Linked DNA regions of Homo sapiens: region 2 is linked to region 1. The links are contacts of gene promoters, found by promoter capture Hi-C in human tissues and cell types (Jung and others, 2019). All regions are on one chromosome and are shown on one strand. The core of a region is centred on a gene start or on the middle of the fragment in contact, and the rest is flanking DNA. Distances in the headings are between cores, read along the strand shown.

What was found. Contacts are between HindIII fragments. The study calls those that stand out against the background at their distance.
Region 2: a contact is called between a fragment that was not itself captured here and the fragment with the promoter of CES4A in region 1, in 1 of the 25 tissues and cell types used here (spleen).

Annotation. Positions count from the first base shown.
Region 1 is chr16:66,985,584-66,991,795 of GRCh38, reverse strand. CES4A (carboxylesterase 4A) reads right to left here and starts at 3,207. Exons shown (of 14, transcript NM_001364782.1): 1 at 2,966-3,207. The coding sequence starts at 3,023. RefSeq lists a silencer at 1-170. The HindIII fragment of the contact is 42,626 bases long and covers 1-6,212 here.
Region 2 is chr16:67,291,848-67,298,059 of GRCh38, reverse strand. KCTD19 (potassium channel tetramerization domain containing 19) reads left to right here. Exons shown (of 16, transcript NM_001100915.3): 7 at 397-557; 8 at 1,801-1,901; 9 at 2,655-2,797; 10 at 3,004-3,087; 11 at 3,366-3,480; 12 at 3,889-4,516. Among named protein-coding and RNA genes, the nearest start is that of PLEKHG4, 15 kb to the right of the region's middle. The HindIII fragment of the contact is 3,446 bases long and covers 1,988-5,433 here.

The sequences.
Region 1 (6,212 bases), core at 1,958-4,457:
GGGCAAATGTTATTGTTACAAAACTATACAAATGTGGAAGCTGAAGCTCAAAGGGGTTATATAAGTTGGCCAAGGTCACACAGAAAAGTATCTTACATCAGAGCAGTGCCTTAAACCATGTTTTTCTGTCGGCTCCCTAGCCTCCAAGGGGCACCTAGCCATGTAGCAGAGTGCTCTAGACCCCTGAGCATGAGCTGCCATGGAGTGGTCCCCATCCCAGCTCTGCTACCCAGAGGCAGCATGTAAGCACCTATGAAAACAATATTCCACCTTACTGGTGGTCATAAAGTGCTAACTAAAACCAGGAGTTACAACTTAGACCTAATAAATTTAAAAGTGATGGCATCTAATTCTGGTGAAGATACAGTGAAAAGGACATTCACATATACTGTTGGTGGAGGATAAACTGATACAATGCCTTGGGAAAATAATTTGGCGAAATGTATACAAAGCCATGAAAAGTTCACTTGCCAGCTGGTGTGGTGGCTCACGCCTGTAATCCCAGCACTTTGGGAGGTCAAGGCAGGTGGATCACTGGAGGTCAGGAGTTCGAGACCAGCCTGGCCAACATGGTGAAACCCTGTCTCTACTAAAAATACAAAAATTAGCTGGGCGTGGTGGTGCGTGCCTGTAATCCCAGCTACTCGGGAGGCTGAGATAGGAGAATTGCTTGAACCCAGGAGGTGGAGGTTGCAGTGAGCCAAGATCGCATCACTGTGCTCCAGCCTGGGAGACAGAGTGAGACTCCATCTCAAAAACAAAACAACAACCAAAAAAGAAAAGAAAAGAAAAGAAAAGAAAAGTTCACATGCCTTCACTCAGTAATTCCACTTCTGGGTCTCTCCCCTGTGAAAATAGTCAGAAACACATGAAAACAAAGACCTTTCTGAACTAAATTTATCTATACCATAGTGAATACTGGAAGCATCATTTATATCTGGGGACCAAGCAAGGCCAATGTAACTACAGACTCAAACTTTAAACTGCTTTTGGTAATAACTTAAATTAAAAAAAAAAAGAAAAACCCCAGAATATAAAATTGTGTTTATTCATTCATTCTTTCTTTTCTTTTCTTTCCCTTATTTTTTTCTTTTTTTGAGACAAGGTCTCCCTCTGTTGCCCAGGCTGGAAGGCAGTGGCATGATCATAGCTCACTACAGCCTCCACCTCCCAAACTCAAGTGAGCCTCTCACTTCAGCCTCTCGAGCAGTTGGGACTGCAGGCATGCACCACACCATGCTTGGCTAATTTTTAAATTTTTTGTTCAGATGGGCTCTAGTTATGTTGCCCAGGCTGGTCTTGAACTCCTGAGCTTAAGCAATCCTCCCACATCAGACTCCCAAAATGCTGGGATTATAGACATGAGCCACCCCATTTGGCTTAAAATTGTGTACATTCTAATAGTACAGCTATAGATAAATACACAATGAAAAGGTGAAAAGAGGTTGGGCATGGTGGCTCATGCCTGCGGTCCCAGCACTTTGGGAGGCCGAGGCAGGTGGATCATCTCAGGTCAGAATTTCGAGACCTGCCTGGCCAGCATGGCGAAACCCCATCTCCACTAAAAAAATACAAAAATTAGCTGGGCTTGTGGTGTACGCCTGTAGTCCCAGCTACTTGGGAGGCTGAGGTGGGGAGAATTGCTTGAACCCGGGAGGTGGAGGTTGCGGTGAGCGGAGATGGCACCATTGCACACCAGTCTGGGTGACAGGGCGAGACTCCGTCTCAAAAAAAAAAAAAAAAAAAAAGAAAAGATGAAAAGAAAATGCGCCAAAATGTTAAAAGCGGAGTAAGCAAAGTTTCCTTCAAATTTAAAATAATGGATATATGTATATATGGGCAAAATTTATTTATGATAGAGGTCAGACTAGTGGTAACTTTGAGTATTGACTGAGAAGGAGTACATGGGACGCTGGAGATGGTTTTTTGTTTTTTTTTTTGAGATAGAGTTTCGCTCTTGTTGCCCAGGCTGGAGTGCAATGGCACGATCTCGGCTCACTACAACCTCTGCCTCCTGGCTTCAAGCGATTCTCCTGCCTCAGCCTCCTGAGTAGCTGGGATTACAGGCATGTGCCACCATGCCTGGCTAGTTTTGTATTTTTAGTAGAGACGGGGTAATAATATTGGTTAGGCTGGTCTCAAACTCCTGACCTCAGGTGATCTGCCCGCTTCGGCCTCCCAAAGTGCTGGGATTACAGGTGTATCCTTGTAAGTTAAAAAAACTTTTTAAAAAATGTTTTTTAAAAATAGAGACAGAGTCTATTTACCCAGGCTAGGTCTCACTATTTGCCCAGGCTGGTCTCAAACTCCTGGGCTCAAGTAATCCTCCCACCTCAGCCTCTCAAAGTGCTGGAATTACAGGCATGAGCTACCATGCCTAACCCACTGGAAATGTTCTAGATGTTGATCTGGATAATGGTTACCATATATATATATATAATAATTAGTATAATAGATATAATTATACAGTGAAGATGTGTGCACCTTGCTGTATACATCTTATACCTCAGTAAACTTTTGTTAATGTATTAGATTGTTTTCACAGTAAAAAGTGTAGTACTCATTTTAAAAAGAAAGATATTGGGGAGAAATTTGAAGGTGGTAAAGAGGTTCATGTAGCAGAGAGGGGGCAGAGACAGGCCTCCTGCTTAGGAGAAGGAAAGAAGGATGGAAGGAAGGAAAAAGGTGGGAAGGAAGAAAAGATGTGGCCATGTTCTCAGACCCCTTCACCTGTGCCGGGAGGCAGGAAATACAGAGAAGCCCTGAGGTTCAGGGAGGCTAAAGGACTTGTCCAGACTCCCAGCTGGTAGATGGTTTAGTGTCCTGAAACCCTACCCTCCATTTGCCCAGGCCTTGTCTAAGTGCTCCTGCCCTGCTGTCCCCAGGAGAGGTTGAACTGGGGCCTGTCCCTCCATCCCTTGTGCCCGTCTTGCCTGACACTCTCGGGAAGGGGTGGGGGTCTTACCCAAGGCCGTCTGCGCCATCAGGCAGAGGGTGAGGCTCCAGCACAGAATCCACCTCATGCTCCAGCCAGCTCCTGCTGTGGGCAGGAGTGATGGCAACACTGTGGATGGCAACACTGTGGATGGCATGGTAGCCGTGTCTACAGTGTGTGAGCACACTTTTATCTGCTCTTAATCCCTGCCAGCAAGTACTGGGGCGGGAGGAATTGTAACCAGCTTCTGACCAGCCCACAGCCTTGTCTCTGCCTTGGGCAACAGGTCACGCTAGATGATCTTGGCTCTTCAAACTGATCAGCCTGCAATCTCCGCCCCGTTTGCTCATCTGTGCAGTGGCTTAAAGCTGAACATGTGTGAGTCAAGGTCTAAGCATACAGTGGGTGCCAAGATTGAAGTAGAACACCTGGTTACTTGGCCCTTCAGCCAGGGCTTCCTGTCTGTGGATTTAAGGGTCTTGGGCCTCCCTGCTCCCCAGTGCCTCGTCTAGCCTCTTCCCTGCCTTTCCTCGCACATGCTGACCCTTGGCTGTCCTCACAGTTTCATAGTCCACATGCGGAAGCTGGACCTGAAAGCAACCGTAATGTGGGAGCCCAGAGGGGCACCCGAGGAGTGAGCCCAGAGCCGGGTGGTGGGAATGAAGATTCCCTGGAAAAGATCTAATCTTCTAAGTAAAGGATGAGGAGGAGTGGGCCAGGCAAAGAAAGATCCTGTTTGAAGTTTGGAGCCACAGGAGCAAGTGTGGGAGGTGGAAGCAAGGAGACAGCAGTCCCATCTTCAGTCAAAGGTAAGATGGGGCTGGGTGTGGTGGCTCATGCCTGTAATACCAGCACTTTGGAAGGCTGAGGCAGGTGGATCACCTGAGGTCAGGAGTTCGAGACCAGCCTGGCCAACATGGTGAAACCCCGTCTCTACTAAAACAAAGAATACAAAAATTAGCTGGGCGTGGTAGTGTGTGCCTGTAGTCCCAGCTACTCAGGAGGCTGAGGCAGGAGGATGGCTTGAACCTGGGAGGCGGAGGTTGTAGTGAGCCGAGATCGGGCCACTGCACTCCAGCCTGGGTGACAGAGTGAGACCCTGTCTCAAAAATAAATAGGCCAGGCACGGTGGCTCATGCCTGTAATCCCAACACTTTGGGAGGCTGAGGCAGGCGGGTCACGAGGTCAGAAGATCGAGACCATCCTGGCTAACACCCCGTCCCTACTAAAAATACAAAAAATTATCCGGGCGTGGTGGCACGCGCCCGTAGTTCCAGCTACTCAGGAGGCTGAGGCAAGAGAATTGCTTGAAACCAGGAGGCGGAGCTTGCAGTGAGCCAAGATGGCGTCACTGTACTCCAGCCTGGGCGACAGAGTGAGACTCCATCTCAAAGAACAAAAAAAAGGTAAGATGTTTCCTCTCTCGTGTACCCCCAAAGTCTGGGGTCCTGGCCCATCTTTGTGAAAAGAGGGTCTGTTGGGCTTCTGTGCTGGGGAGGGGAAAAGGCAGGGGAACAGAGAACTTCTCCCTTGGCCCACAGCCTCTTGCTCTATAGGCCTGACAGATGGTTAAACCTCCTTCTTTCACAGTCAATTTTCTGAGTTCTTCGGAGATGCTCTTTATTTGGGACTCCTCTCCCACAGTTCCCATCCTTGTGACCCTTCCTCAGTCCCAAGGAATGTGGCATTCACTGCCCAATCATTGCTGCCTGGGCTCTGTGCTCCTCTAATGAAGGCCCAAGATGACCCCCCACCCCTGCCTCTGCCACTTATCCTGTGGGGTCTACATGGGCAAACCTCCAATATCCCTTGCCCCACCTCAGCAGAGGTGTGGCCCATCCCATTGCAGCCCCTTCTGCCCCACTCACGATGGCGGGGTGGAGTCAGGCTCTGGCTGGCTGAGCCTCCTATGGTGGAAAGCACCACTCATCTTCCCCATGGTCTCATGCCCACAGGCTTGAGGGGAAAGAAGTGGGGTGAGAACTCACAGCGAGGTAACAGGTCTCTACAAAGAAAATCTCTCCCCTAACTCCTCCCCAGCATAACGTGTTAACTTGTGGTGGCTCACGCCTGTAATCTCAGCACTTTAGGAGGCCAAGGCAGGAGGACCGCTTAAGGCCAGGAGTTCAAGGCCAGCCTGGACAACATAGTGAGACCCTGTCTTTACAAAAAATTAAAAAGTCAGCCAGATGTGCTGGTACATGCCTGCAGACCCAGCTACTTGGGAGGCTGAGGCAGCAGGATCAATTGAGCCCAGGCGGTCAAGACAGAGTAAGACTCTGTCTCTAACCAAAATACCCCGAAACAAAAAACAAAAAACAAGACCCACTTTTATTATTTATTTATTTTTTTGAGACAGAGTCTCACTCTGTCGCCCAGGCTGGAGTACAGTGGCGCCACCTCAGCTCACTGCAAGCTCTGCCTCCCAGTTTCAAGCAATTCTCTTGCCTCAGCCTCCTGAGTAGCTGGGACTACGGGCGCATGCCACCACGCCCAGATAATTTTTTGTATTTTTAGTAGAGACAGGGTTTCATCATGTTAGCCAGGATGGTCTCAATCTTCTGACCTCGTGATCCGCCTGCCTCGGCCTCCCAAAGTGTTGGGATTACAGGCAACAGCCACTGTGCCTGGCCTATTTATTTATTTTTGAGACAGGGTCTCACTCTGTTGCCCAGGCTGGAGTGCAGTGGCCCGATCTCGGCTCACTGCAACCTCTGCCTCCTGGGTTCAAGCGATTCTCCTGCTTCAGCCTCCCAAGTAGCTGGGACTACATGCCTGTGCCACCACCCCCAGCTAATTTTTGTATTTTTAGTAAAGACGGGGTTTCACTGTGTTGGCCAGTCTGGTCTTGAACGCCTGATCTCAAGTGATCCACCTGCCTCAGCCTCACAAAGTGCTGGGATTACAGGCGTGAGCCACCACGCCCGGCCACATATTTTCCATATTTATTTATGTATTTATTTTTTGAGATGGAGTTTCACTCATGTTGCCTAGGCCGGAGTGCAATAACATGATCTTGGCTCACTGCAGTCTCCACCTCTTGGGTTCAAGAAATTCTCCTGCCTCAGCCTCCTGAGTAGCTGGGAATTCAGGTGCTCACCTCCACAGCCAGCTAATTTTTCAATTTTTAGTAGCATGTTTACCACGTTGGCCAGGATAGTCTCAAACTCCTGACTTCAGGTGATCCACCTGACTCAGCCTCTCAAAGTGGTATTTTCCATATTTAAAAAAATGAACATTAGTTGAGGGTTCAGTCAGTGTGAGGTTTAAAGGTATA
Region 2 (6,212 bases), core at 2,461-4,960, 310 kb before region 1:
ATCGCGCCACTGCACTCCAGCCTGGGTGACAGAGTTAGACTCCGTCTCAAAAAAAGAAAAAAAAAAAAAAAGAAACCCCGTCTCTACTAAAAATACAAAAAATTAGCCAGGCGTGGTGGCGGGTGCCTGTAGTTCCAGCTACTTGGGAGGCTGAGGCAGGAGAATTGCTTGAACCTGGGAGGCAAAGGTTGCAGTGAGCCAAGATTGCGTCACTGCACTTCAGCCTGGCGACAGAGTGAGACTCCATCTAAAAAAAAAATACAAGGAAACGATGTTAATGATGCCTGATTTAAGCCAGTGTTGCGGCAAGGCATCCTAGGCATGGAAAGTTTACAGGCTCGACTCTCTTGGGGTACAATGCTGATGTTCTTCATGACAGACCTTTCCTCTGGGCAGGAACTGGCTGGGGACTTGCCGGCTGCCCCTGACAGAGACCATTTCCGAGGTATATGAGCTCTGTGCCTTCCTAGACAAAAGGGACATCACCTACGAGCCAATCAAAGTTGCTTTGAAGACTCATCTGGAGCCAAGGACTTTGGCACCCATGGATGTGCTCAGTAAGTGAGAAAGCTTCTAGGTTTGAATTTAGCATCAGGGGAGTATCTGGGAGATTGGAGGGAATAGATGATGTGGCCAGGACGAGGAACTGTAGATGGAGGAGGAGGGGAAAGCCAGGCCAATATTTTGGATTTTTACAAAAGGGAAACTTTCATATTAAGTGCTCCCTCCTCACCTCCAAGCCCACAATTCGTCTCCAGCAGCAGACAGGGCTGTTACCCAGTCTGGGGCCACGCAGGACCCCCAGGGCAGGCCTGCCTTGACCCTGGGAGCTGACTTGCTGTGCTTCTCACAGCCATGCAGGGAGGAGCCTCCTCTGTTAAACAGAGCTGTCCCTGGGTCCATTTAACAGCCAAAAAATAGGTTCAGAGAAGAAAACTCACTCAAGTTACACAGTGGTCAAGCTGGGGTTTGACTGAGTCCAAAGCTAATGTTGTTTTCACCAGCTGCCTATAACTTCTTATTACCAAAAATTTGGGGGACAAAGTTTAAGCTGTATTACTATCATTTAGCAGCATCCAACATTTATTGAGTACCGGTCATATACCAGGACAGCAGTAGACACTGGCGGCACAGAAGTAAGCAACACAGACTTAGTCCCTTTCTTCCTGGAGTTCACGGTCTAGTTCTATACATCTTATCTCTTGGTTATATAATCTAGTTATATACCCTTCATTCATTACAGAGCTCATTAGAAACTGCTTCCCAAACATCAGAACAAGGCCTACATATAGTCATCTCCAGGAAAAGGGTTATGGGTTCATCTTTCCAGCATACAGCCCCCATTCTCCAGACATGCCTAGAGGCTTAGTCTCATAAAAGTGACAGGGATTTGATGAGAGTTGGCTCCATGACATTTGCCAAACCACGAACATAAACACACAGAGAGAGATTCCTAGCTTCAGTCTGAGTGGCCACATGAAAAGCTACACACTCAGGACACACCCAACCAGAAACCGGAGGCAGCTGGCATTGTAGGTGGACAGGGTCATCAACCCAGCTTTCCTGAGGGAGGAGGGTCAGGTGAAGAGGGGCAGTGCCCTTTCCCGCCTCACCACCCAGGAAACCTTGCAGCAAGCAAGGTTTATGTCAGGGATTTCTGCTGCTTCTCAGACTAGGCAACACAATATGACTGAGGAAAGATATTGAGACTTAACGTGAAATACACTACTAACCAAAGGGCCCTACCTGCTTTCCCTTCTGGCCATATGATGATGTGTTCTATCTCCTGGATTCCCATAGATGAGTGGACGGCAGAGATCACTGTGTATTCCCCACAACAGATCATCAAAGTGTATGTTGGAAGCCACTGGTACGCAACCACCCTGCAGACACTGCTGAAGGTACTGACGGCCTCGGCTGCCCTGCTCCCCATCTGGCATCACCACCTGAGCTGCTCTGGGGGCCATCACCTGGCCCTCACACAGCTTCCAGCACTTGCTTAGAACAAAGGCTTTCCCGCCAGGCACGGTGGCTCATGCCTGTAATCCCAGCACTTTGGGAGGCTGAGGTGGGCAGATCACGAGATCAGGAGTTCAAGACCAGCCTGACCAACATGGTGAAACCCCGTCTGTACTAAAAATACAAAAATTAGCTGGGTGTGATGGCACGTGCCTGTAATCCCAGATACTTGGGAGGCTGAAGCACCAGAATTGTTTGAACCCAGGAGATAGAAGTTGCAGTGAGCTGAGATCGCGCCACTGCACTCCAACCTGGGTGACGGAGTGTGACTCTGCCTCAAAAAACAAAACAAAACAGAGCACAAGTGGACCGAGTGGCCTGCTGGGAAGGCCCTCCAGAGTTTGCATAGGGAGGGGGCCAGCTCTGAGGGACCTGGACTGAGAAGGAGGTACGGTGGGCTTCCAAATGCCTTGAGAGGGTGGTCTAGGGGCCATCAAAAGTTGAAGCAGGGATGATGTGCTTCTCCCTGGAAGCTCTGCTCCCCACCATGGTTCCTTGTGACTGACAAGACAGGGAAATGGAATCTCAAAGCCTCTGCTCTAGTGTAGTTGGAAAAGGGGAGTGAGAGAAGATTGACCTGCCCCTTCGCAAAGACCTAGCCTCTGAGACTGAGTCCGGTGTCCAACCCCCTCCAGTATCCAGAACTGCTGTCCAACCCTCAGAGAGTGTACTGGATCACATATGGACAAACCCTGCTCATCCACGGGGATGGCCAGATGTTCCGACACATTCTCAACTTCCTGAGACTTGGCAAACTGTTTTTACCATCTGAATTTAAGTAAGTGAAGCAAGGACGCAGTAAGATGAAATCACGAAGGCTGACCCCTCCCTTAGCAACAAAGGAGACCTGAGTTGCAGCCTTCAGGGAGGAGGTTATTTTATTTCCATCGTGGGAACTGTTGGCAGCGGCAGTTCCAGGAGCTCATGCTCCCTCCCACACCCTCATCCTAGCTGCCCAGCTGGATATCTCCTTGTTGTTTGCAGGGAATGGCCCCTCTTCTGCCAGGAGGTGGAGGAATACCACATTCCATCCCTCTCAGAAGCCCTTGCACAATGTGAAGCATACAAGTAAGAAAACTTTATCACGACTCTATGTTTAGAATTTGGTCCTTTAAATTCCTCTTGAAATCCTGTCCTAAGTCCTACTCCTAGAGGATCCTGATCTCCTTGGGGTTGAGGGAGTGAAGCAGGCCCAGGATTGGCCAGTGACCTAGGCAAAACCCTTTAAGAGCCCCTTCTTCCCTGCTGTCTAGCATTAACTCCCAGCCAAAGAGCAGATCTGACCAACTGGCCAATGGCCTGATGGAAGTCTCTACTCACTAACCAACCCCTCTTGGTTTCTGCAGGTCATGGACTCAGGAGAAAGAATCTGAAAATGAAGAAGCTTTTTCCATCAGGAGGCTGCATGTGGTGACAGAAGGGCCAGGGTCACTGGTGGAGTTCAGTAGAGACACTAAAGAAGTAAGCACCAGCCTCCTCTGGTTGGTGTTATCCTCAAAAACCACTACCACCGGGCTCAGGGTGGATGGGGGTAGGTTCAGCTACTGGTGGGTGCAGCAAAATGAAAGAGCAGAGCCTACATGGGTTCCTAGGACAGGACCTGGCTTCTGAACCGTGAAGGAGGCACAGGAACTTACTGGCCACTTGTGGCCTGCGATGCTGATTGTATCTCCTGTTGGAATGACAGGCCACTGGGCTGGCACCATCCCCACTCAGCCTGAGCAAAGCTCAAATGGGTGACCCCTGTCAGGGATGGGATTGTTCAGGGAGAGCAAGTGAAGTCTTGGAGGCCCAGCTTATTAGATCTTGGGCAAGGCGTTGATGTCCATGCCCAACCTATCCAGAGTTACTGTGCCCTTCCCTCCCCAGACCACAGCCTACATGCCTGTGGACTTCGAAGACTGCAGTGACAGGACTCCATGGAACAAGGCTAAGGGAAACCTGGTCAGGTCCAACCAGATGGATGAGGCTGAGCAGTACACTCGGCCCATCCAGGTGTCCCTATGCCGAAATGCCAAGAGGGCTGGCAACCCTAGCACATACTCACACTGCCGTGGCTTGTGTACCAATCCTGGACACTGGGGGAGCCACCCTGAGAGCCCCCCAAAGAAGAAATGCACCACAATCAACCTCACACAGAAATCTGAAACCAAAGACCCTCCCGCCACTCCCATGCAAAAACTCATCTCCCTGGTGAGAGAATGGGACATGGTCAATTGCAAACAGTGGGAATTCCAGCCACTGACAGCCACACGGAGCAGCCCCTTGGAGGAGGCCACCCTGCAGCTCCCCTTGGGAAGCGAGGCTGCTTCCCAGCCCAGCACCTCAGCTGCCTGGAAAGCCCATTCCACAGCCTCAGAGAAGGATCCAGGACCACAGGCAGGGGCTGGAGCTGGAGCGAAAGACAAGGGGCCAGAGCCAACCTTCAAGCCATACTTACCCCCAAAAAGAGCTGGCACCCTGAAGGACTGGAGCAAGCAGAGGACCAAGGAGAGAGGTGAGTCCTGTCCCCCTTTGATCTAAGTCTTATTCACAACAGAGAAGGCAAACTCTTTGGCCAAGATGGCAGAGCAAGTTAGTGACAAAGGAGGACTAGACCCCCCCGCTCACCAATGCCATCTCTGTGCCAGGCAGCAGACACAGAAATGACTGGCACATTGGCATGGCTGGAGGGGCCAGGAGAACACACACGGCGAAGGGATGAGTGCTGTGGGAAGGAGGTGCCTATGAAGCAGGAGCACAAAAGAGGCTGAGGGCTGGGGAGTCAGCAGGGGAAGGAAGGAGAAGTCCAGGATGTTTGGAAGCGCAGGGCATGGGTCTAGCTGGAGGCCAGGCTTCACATGCAGACGTGATAAAAGATGAGGCTGAAGACAGAAGTCATAAGGACAGGCCTCGTGGGCCAGCTTCAGGACGTGGTACTCCATTCTGACCAGGATGGGAGTGAGCAGCGTCTGAAGGATTTTAGACAAGAGCACGGGGTCAGGTGTGCCCATCAGAAAGTTTGCTCCAGGAGCAGAGGAAATGCAGCAGGAGCTAGGTATTCGAAGCCACTTGGAGTTCTTTCTAGGCTAGGGGAAGCAGGCTAGGCAGGTAGTGGAGGGAAGGAGGGATGGGCCAAGGAGAAGCCAGGTTTCTAGCCTGTGGGACTGCAAGGGGGTGGATAGGCCCTTACTGAGGTGTGGGTAAGAGAAAGAGCAGAGCTTGGGGAAGGGCACATACTGAGTGTGAAATGCCGAGGGACATCCAGGTGGAGAAGCCCAGGAGACAGCAGGGGCTACAGGGACTGAACTGGAGAGAGAGCTTGTGTAGCCAGCTAAGGGAAGGTGGCCAGGGAACTGTGCTGAAAATCGCTGTGCCAGGATGCTGCCTCTGCTCCCTCAAAGCCCTGCCTGCAGTATTGTCACCTTCCCTATTAGTGGCTCCAGCCCTGCTTGGAGGGGCCTTCTTGGACTCTTGCCTGTGAGCCCTAAGTTGGTCTGTCAAGGTTGGGATGACAAATGTCCACTCTTTGGACATGCATCAAAGGCTGGCCCCAAAAGTTCTCAACTTAAAATTTTATAAAGATTTCCAGCCCTCAGCCCCATTTGATACGTCTTAGTTCAACAGAGGAATCTGGAGTTTCTTCGAGTTCCAAAATGTTCAGGATTTGGCTTGCAGTGATGCCAGGGCAATGAAGAGAGGAGTGGCCAGGACAGGCCCCTGCCAGCCCAGGGTGTCACTTCTGAGAAACTAGAGGTGGCAGCTGTTGCAAGGCTGGGGTGACTTGATTGTACTGGCCTGTCACCAGAGGTCCCCTTCCTGCTTGGGCTCTGAGGTGGCTTAAGGAGAGTCCCTGCTTATGAAGATTTGATGGTAATTGAAGAAAAGAATTTTAAAAGCCTGTGCGTGTGGCTCACGCCTGTAATCCCAGCACTTTGGGAGGCTGAGGCGGGTGGATCACCTAAGGTCAGGAGTTCGAGACCAGCCTGGTGAAACCCCATCTCTACCAAAAATACAAAAATTAGCCGGGCGTGGTGGCAGGTGCCTGTAATCCCAGCTACTCAGGAGGCTGAGGCAGGAGAATCGCTGGAACCTGGGAGGCAGAGGTTGCAGTGAGCCAAGATTGTGCCATTGCACTCCAGCCTGGGCAACAAAAGCAAAACTCTATCTTGAAAAAAAATTTTTTTTTAAAAGGAGAGCCCCCTCCCTATGTT